Regions from separate parts of the Homo sapiens genome. Here region 2 is linked to region 1. Evidence: promoter capture Hi-C in human tissues and cell types (Jung and others, 2019). All regions are on one chromosome and are shown on one strand. Each heading gives the region's core, a stretch centred on a gene start or on the middle of the fragment in contact. The rest is flanking DNA. Distances are from core to core; before and after follow the strand shown. Region 1 holds the start of IFT81 (intraflagellar transport 81). Region 2 overlaps RAD9B (RAD9 checkpoint clamp component B).

What was found. Contacts are between HindIII fragments. The study calls those that stand out against the background at their distance.
Region 2: a contact is called between a fragment that was not itself captured here and the fragment with the promoter of IFT81 in region 1, in 1 of the 25 tissues and cell types used here (hippocampus).

Annotation. Positions count from the first base shown.
Region 1 is chr12:110,122,267-110,126,175 of GRCh38, forward strand. It overlaps IFT81 (intraflagellar transport 81), which reads left to right and starts at 2,091. Exons shown (of 19, transcript NM_014055.4): 1 at 2,091-2,595. RefSeq lists a silencer at 1,905-2,174. The HindIII fragment of the contact is 7,034 bases long and covers 202-3,909 here.
Region 2 is chr12:110,518,960-110,522,681 of GRCh38, forward strand. It overlaps RAD9B (RAD9 checkpoint clamp component B), which reads left to right. Exons shown (of 11, transcript NM_001286535.2): 9 at 835-957; 10 at 3,218-3,452. Among named protein-coding and RNA genes, the nearest start is that of RAD9B, 18 kb to the left of the region's middle. The HindIII fragment of the contact is 3,878 bases long and covers 149-3,722 here.

The DNA of each region.
Region 1 (3,909 bases), core at 841-3,340:
AAAAACATAAATGTCTTCAGTGCCTCCCAATGTTGGGCACTGTTGTAATCACTTTACCTGTATCAACTCCCTTAATCCTCATGTCAACCCTATTGAGGAAGGTTTTATTATAGCCACGTTTTACAGATGAGGAAAGTTTAGCAAGATAAAGAGAGGGTACACAATGGCAGATGCAGAATTCAAACCCAGGTAGCCAGGGATGTCTCCTAACACACCCAACAGGATCAATGAATTATATAATCCCTTCTACAAATCTTGTATTGTTTCTGTCAGTATTATGTAAGTTATTTAATTCTTTGAGGTTTTGAGTGTTGCTTCCCCTAATTGGTTGTGGGGTGGGGCCAGTTTTAGTTTCTCTCCAGGAGCCCTGCAGGGTACCTACGCTTGATATTTCAACAGTCAGAGGGCAGCCAACAAAGGGACTGGTCTTGGAATGTTGTGTTGCCTCTGCCCAAAACACTCTCCCTTTTCCTGTTTGGCTAATTTTTACTGATCCTTTTTAAGAGATGGGGGTCTCCTTCTGTTGCCCAGCCTGGAGTGCAATGGTGCCACCCCTGACCAATTTTTGCTTTTAATTTTTTGTAGAGAAAGGGTCTTGCTCTGTTACCCAGGCTGATCCTGAACTCCTGGGCTCAAAGTTATCTTGTTGCCTTGGTCTCTCAAAGTGCTGAGATTACAGGCGTGAGCCACGGTGCCAGGCCTAATTTTTACTGATCCTTAAACATCACTCCATTTGACAGAAACTTTCCTGATGGTATGGCCCCTTTGGCACCACCCTCCCCAAATAAACTTGAGGCCCTTAATCTGGGCTCCTAATCATTGGCTTCTCTTGTTACAGCATTTATCTCAATTGTATTGGTGTTGCCCCTTTAATAATCTCTGCCGGCACTAGACTGTCAGCTCCATCAGGGCAGGGGCCAGGTAAGTCCTGCCCTTCTGCATTTCCAGCAGCCTGTACAGTACAGGGCATATAGGAAATGCCTAATACGTAATCTGTTATTTTTTGTTGTGGTAAGTCTGATGCTAAAGCTATAGTTGGTTTCTCCTATGCTGTTTGAGCAGGCAACTAAGTTTTCAAGGTATCAATAATTTGATTTTTTTTCCTTCTCTTTCTTTCATTGCCAGCTGATATCACTAAGTATCGTGGTCTCTAGTCTAATAGAGGTTGGTTCAAAATACCATTTGCCAACTAAGGTCTCCCACAAACCAGCTAGTGCAAATTCCAGTAGACTTTTAAACCTCATCAGTGACTGGGCACAAAGATCTCCCTGCGTCCTGCGTGGGATGTGAACTCCATGAAGACCACAAGGAGGATTTAATTTATTTCTGCAGTCACCTAAAGAGAGCCCACTCAGAAGCCAAAGGAACATTAGGACACTTAGTTCTCCCACACCCCCTTTCAGGCTCTCAGCATACTCAAAACGTATTGGGTTTAAAAAAATTTAATTCCCAGTACAGGCAATGTGGCCCAGTAATGTGACACAGAAGCTGAAATCTCTATGATGAATGTGTCTTCTTTTAATCCTGCCAGAGCCTCACTACAATTGTTCCTATGCATAACCTAATTTGGAGATACTTATGTCAAAAACCTAAATTTGAAGCACTGGCCAAATGCTTGCTCATCCCAACCCCCCTACCACCCAGCCCTGCCTCAAAAACAAACAAAAATCATCACCCACGTTTGGCGCATGAATGCATGCATGCATGCATGAATGAATGAATGAATGAAACATCACACGCATTTAACATAGGTTAATCATGCAGAGAGTATTTTGTAAACTGCGAAGTGCAGGACTTTCGGGAAGCTTATTGTAGCGCGTCTAGGTCGGAGTAACAGTCCCAAATGCCCTCGGCTGTCTGCAGTGGCTCAGCACGTGGGCCCGCTTTGCAAGTAAGCCCGGCTCCCGTCCGCCCCGTCCGCCCCGCCCCGTCCCGCCCCGTCCCGTCCGCTCCGCCCCGCCCCGCCCCGTCCGCTCCGCCCCGCGCCCGTCCTCCCCGCCCTGGCCCGGCCCCGCCCCCCAGCTCGTGCGCGCGCGCGCGGGAGAGCGGCCGCTCGCCCGGAAGTGACGTAACTCTACGGCCTAGCAACCGTTGCCAAGGAGCTCGACTCTGGGAGCGGTCTAGAGCCCGGGCGCCTCCTGGGGGGTGGGGAAACGGTTTCGTGAGGAGAATTTGAGGTAACCTCGCCAACTCGCGGTCGGAAGCTCCTCTGAACCCCGAAATAGGAGAGAGCTCCCGTCCTCTCTCGGTCCTGATGCAGCACCTCGCAAGTGGAAGGGGTCGTCGCGGTTAAGCCCCCGGATAGGGGAATCGGGCCCCTTCTGGGATTCGAGCGGATCCAGGCCGCTCCCTGGAGGGATGAACTGTCGAGGGGCCCAGGGCAGCCCCCGCTAGAGGCCCGGTCGGGTGTGGGGTCCCCTGTCCCCTGTCCCGAGCCCGGGGAGGGGGACACTATTTCTGGTACTCCCAGGAGGCTGCGGGTCGATGCTCGTGCCAGCCTGGGACCCAGGCAGCACGGTTTCTCTCCCAAATTGTGCCAGAGAACACGCACGTCCTGGTTTTCATTGTTCCCCGCCTCCTGCGACTCGTTTGTGGGTGAGTGCTTGGGAATTAGCGCGGCGACTTCGCGCTAGAAGAGGGACAGTAATTGCTTTTGCTAATTTTAGAGCGCAGAGCCCGCTGGGCACAGACAGCCTTCCTGTTCAGTACATCTTTGTCCTTATCGAGTGACCATTTTTGCAGGCTGGTGGGCGACTTGGGGGGAACCCAACTGGTTTATTTTGCCTTCCTGGAAACGTTGTACTAGTTTATCCAGATTTTTTTTTAAGGGAAAAAAGAGTAGACCTATAGATAATTTCTAAATCATTTAAAATGAAATACATATTTCTGCACGCAAAGGTTATGACGTGGACTTTTACTTAAAATACTTTAAACAATGGAAAACTTGCACTTCCAATATGGATTTTAAAAAAAAACTTACGTAAAGGTTTTCCTTTTATAGCTTAAAGGAAACCTCAGATTTATTATAAGCCATGGTGGTTATCCTTCCTATCCTCTTTTGACTTATTTCTTAGCAATAATAATTATTTGTGCGTAATTTTTCATCATTGTGGAGAAATTATCTTTTTTATTTTATTTTTTCTGTTGAGACGGAGTCTCTCTCTGTCCCCCAGGCTGGAGTGCAGTGGCGCGATCTCGGCTCACTGCAACCTCCGCCTCCCGGGTTCAAGCAATTCTCCTGCCTCAGCCTCCCAAGTAGCTGGGACTACCGGCGCCCGCCACCACACCTGGCTAATTTTTGTATTTTTAGTAGAGACCGGGTTTCACCATGTTGGCCAGGCTGGCCTCGAACTCCTGACCTCAAGTGATCTGCCTGCCTCGGCCTCCCAAAGTACTGGGATTACAGGAGAGAACGACAGCTCCCGGCAGCAACTCATTGCTTAATTCATTTTTAATCCTTAAAGCATTTACCTAGGTAAAGCTGTTTCAGCAGTTAATAAATCAGATATTCAGTTTTTTAAAAAGTTATGATCTTTCTCACTGCCAGCCTGATTTCCTTTAGATTTAGGCTTATGTTGTACTTGTGCCTGTGAACAAGTTCATTCAATCTAGTGGAAGGAATCACTGTTTTAGACACAATGGATGTTCAAAAATGGAATTGGACACAGATACGGAATTTACAGTTTAGCAGGGAAGAGAAGATGCGTACCTAAAGAACTAGCACAAGATCGGCCAGGCGCGGTGGCTCACGCCTGTAATTCCAGCACTTTGGGAGGCCAAGGTGGGCGGATCACGAGGTCAGGAGATCCAGACCATCCTGGCTAACACGGTGAAACCCCGTCTCTACTAAAAATACAAAAAATTAGCCAGGCGTGCTGGCAGGCGCCTGTAGTCCCAGCTACTTGGGAG
Region 2 (3,722 bases), core at 838-3,337, 400 kb after region 1:
TGAGCTTGTTTCTTTTGTTTTATATCAATAACAAAACCTTTTGGATCACTTTGAAATTAATTAACACCTCAGGAATACCTAAACTTTACTATTAATACTTATCAAACTAAAATTTTGAAAGATGCTAAAACATGGCATTTAAAATTTTCTTTTTTCTTTTTTCAGACGGAGTCTCACTCTGTCGCCCAGGCTGGAGTGCAGTGGCATGATCTCGGCTTACTGCAGGCTCTGCCTCCCGGGTTCAAGCAATTCTACTGCCTCAGCCTCCCAAGTAGCTGGGATTACGGGCGTCTACCACCATGCCTGGCTAATTTTTGTATTTTTGGTAGAGACGGGGTTTCACCATGTTGGCCAGGCTGGCCTTGAACTCCTGATTTCAAGAGATCCACCAGCCTCGGCCTCCCAAAGTGCTGGGATTACAGGCGTGAGCCATAGCACCCGGCCTACTGTTTGTTGTTGTTGTTGTTGTTGTTGTTGTTGTTGTTGTTGAGATGGAGTTTTGCTTTTGTTGCCCAGGCTGGAGTGCAATGGTGCAATCTCAGCTCACTGCAACCTCCGCCTCCCAGGTTCAAGTGATTCTTCTGCCTTAGCCTCTTGAGTAGCTGGGATTACAGGCATGCACCATCATGCCCGGCTAATTTTTTTTTTGTATTTTTAGTAGAGACGGGGTTTCTTCATGTTGGTCAGGCTGGTCTCAAACTCGCAACCTCAGATGATCCACCCGCCTTGGCCTCCCCTGTTTCTTTTTAGTCCAGAATTAAGTATCATTTCTAATGTGTTTCTAATGTCCATCAGAAAATGAGTGTCACTGTTGCTCTGACTTGGCTTTTTTAGACCTCTGGCTTTGAGTATTGATGATATGTTAGTGGAAGCTAACTTTATTTTGGCCACATTAGCTGATGAACAAAGTAGAGCATCTTCACCACAGTCACTGTGTCTTTCACAGAAACGAAAAAGGTAAGACTGTGTTTTAACTTCTTTATTACTTGGGACAAGCCATCATAATCTTATTTTGAAATAATTCACTTGCATTCACTTAGGAAACAATTGAGGAGTGAAATATTAGTTAACAAATTTTGACTGAATACAGAAGAGCTGTAGTGAAACTTACCTGTAGCATAGAAACATCACCAATCTCGTGTCAGATATTTGCTTTTTCTGTTCTGACCAGAATTGAACAAGACTGTCTGGTTTATCTGTGTTGTTTCCCAGAACTCAATTCCAATTTTTAGTTTTTGTTGTTGTTGTTGTTGTTGTTATTGTTTTAGACAAGGTCTCACTCCCATTGCCCAGGCTTGAGTGCTCTGGCGCAATCTCAAGTCACTGCAGCCTCCATTTCCCTGGCTCAAGTGGTCCTCCCACCTCAGCCTCCCAAGTAGCTGGGACTATAGGCATGTGCCACCACACCCAGCTAATTTTTTGTATTTTTTTTTGTAGAGACAGGGTTTCACCATGTTGCCCAGGCTGGTCTCAAACTTCTGGGCTGAAGCCATCCACCTGCCTCAGCCTCCCAAAGTGCTGGGATTACAGGTGTGAGTCACCACATCGGGCCTTTAGTTTTTTTTTTTGTTTTTTTTTAGGGGTAATATAGTGTTTTCACAGGAAAGTCTATATTCACTTCCTAGAACTTTTGCTCAGATATAGGGATAGCCATTGCTTTCTTGCTTTCTTTTTTTTTTTTTTTTTTGTTGTTTTTTTTTTGTTTTTTTGAGACAGAATCTCACTCTGTTGCCCAGGCTGGAGTGCAGTGGCATGATCTCAGCTCACTAAAACCTCCACCCCCTGGGTTCAAGCAATTCTCCTGCCTCAGCCTCCCTAGTCGCTGGGATGACATGTGTGCACTAACACGCCTGGCTAATTTTTGTGTTTTTAGTAGAGACGGGGTTTCACTATGTTGGTCAGGCTGGTCTCGAACTCCTGACCTTGTGATCTGCCCGCCTCAGCCTCCCAAAGCGCTGGGATTACAAGCATGAGCCACTGCGCCTGGCTTTTTTTTCTTTCTTAATTTCTTTTCTTTTGGGGGAAGAATGATGCTTTATTGTAAAAGTTATTTCAGGAAATTTGGAAAATAGAGAAAAGTACAAAGAAGAAAATAAAACTTACTCATAATTGCATCACCCAGAGATAGCCACTGTAACATTCTGGCTCACTGCATTTTCTTTCAGACTTAATTTTGTGTATACTTGTATTTTCAAATTTTTTAAAAAAATTTTTTGAGACAGGGTCTCACTCTGTCACCCAGGCTGGAGTGCAGTAGCACAGTCATAGCTCATCATAGTCTCAACCTCCCAGGCTGAAGCATTCCACCTCAGCCTCCTGAGTAACCAGGACTACAGGCACCTGCCACCACACCCAGCTAATTTTTGTGTTTTTTGTAGAGATCGGGTTTTACCATGTTGCCCAGGCTGGTCTCTTAACTCCTGGGCTCAAGCAGTCTACCTGCCTCGGCCTCCCAGAGTGCTAGGATTACAGATGTGAGCCACTGCACCCGGCCTATCCTTGTATTTTAAAACAAGATTAGGATCATAGAGCATATGCGGTTTTGGTATTGTGGGTGTGTTTCAATATCACTGATAATGACTTGAAAACATAATTCTTTTTTTTTTTTTTTTTTTGAGTCAGAGTCTCGCTTTGTCACCCGGGCTGGAGTGCAGTGGCGCCATCTCAGCTCATTGCAACCTCCGCCTCCTGGGTTCAAGCAGTTTTCTGCCTCAGCCTCCAGAGTAGCTGGGATTACAGGTGCCTGCCACCACGCCCGGCTAATTTTTTTGTATTTTTAGTAGAGACGAGGTTTCACCATCTTGGCCCTGCTGGTCTTGGACTCCTGACCTCGTGATCCACCCCCCTTGACCTCCCAAAGTGTTGGGATTACAGGCGTGAGCCACCGTGCCCGGCCGAAAACATGATTCTTAATGACTGTACACAATTTTATCATATAGATGTATAGTAATTTACTTGACTTTTCCCCTAACTTGCTCCTGTTACCATATCACAAGATATTCTATGCACAATGAGTTGCTTTACTGAAAGATTGTCTGTCAAGAGAATTTATAAATGATCATATATATAAATTTTAACTTGCAACAATTTAGTTCCATGTATTTCAATATATTCCCTAATCCAGTGCTATCATTGTCATCCCACATTGTCCATTAGTTATATAAAAATATATTTCACAATAAACAGTTCATTCATTTAATGCCTATTAATACCTCAGGTCAGATCTGATTGAAAAAAAGGCTGGCAAAAATGTAACTGGCCAGGCCCTGGAATGTATTTCAAAAAAAGCAGCACCAAGAAGGCTTTATCCTAAGGAGACTCTCACAAACATATCTGCATTGGAAAACTGTGGCAGCCCTGCAATGAAAAGAGTGGATGGAGATGTCAGTGAAGTATCAGAAAGCAGTGTCAGCAACACAGAGGAAGTGCCAGGGTCTCTGTGTCTCAGAAAGGTAAAAGCATTGAGATTCAACCACATCTCAGTCAAGAATTCTCATCTGTCTCCCTTTGCAGTCTTCCTCCCCAATCCCCACCCAGCCATGTTCTGAAAATTGATTTTCTTATTTTTTGATAGGGGAAAAGTGAAGCTAGTCTGAATTATAGAATGAAGAAAAGTCTGATAGAGAAAAGTCTGATTTACAGAATATCAATAGAAAATAGTTAAATTGTTCAGTCAGTAATTTCTAACAAAGCATATTCAAGTAGAGGTTTGGGTCACTTGT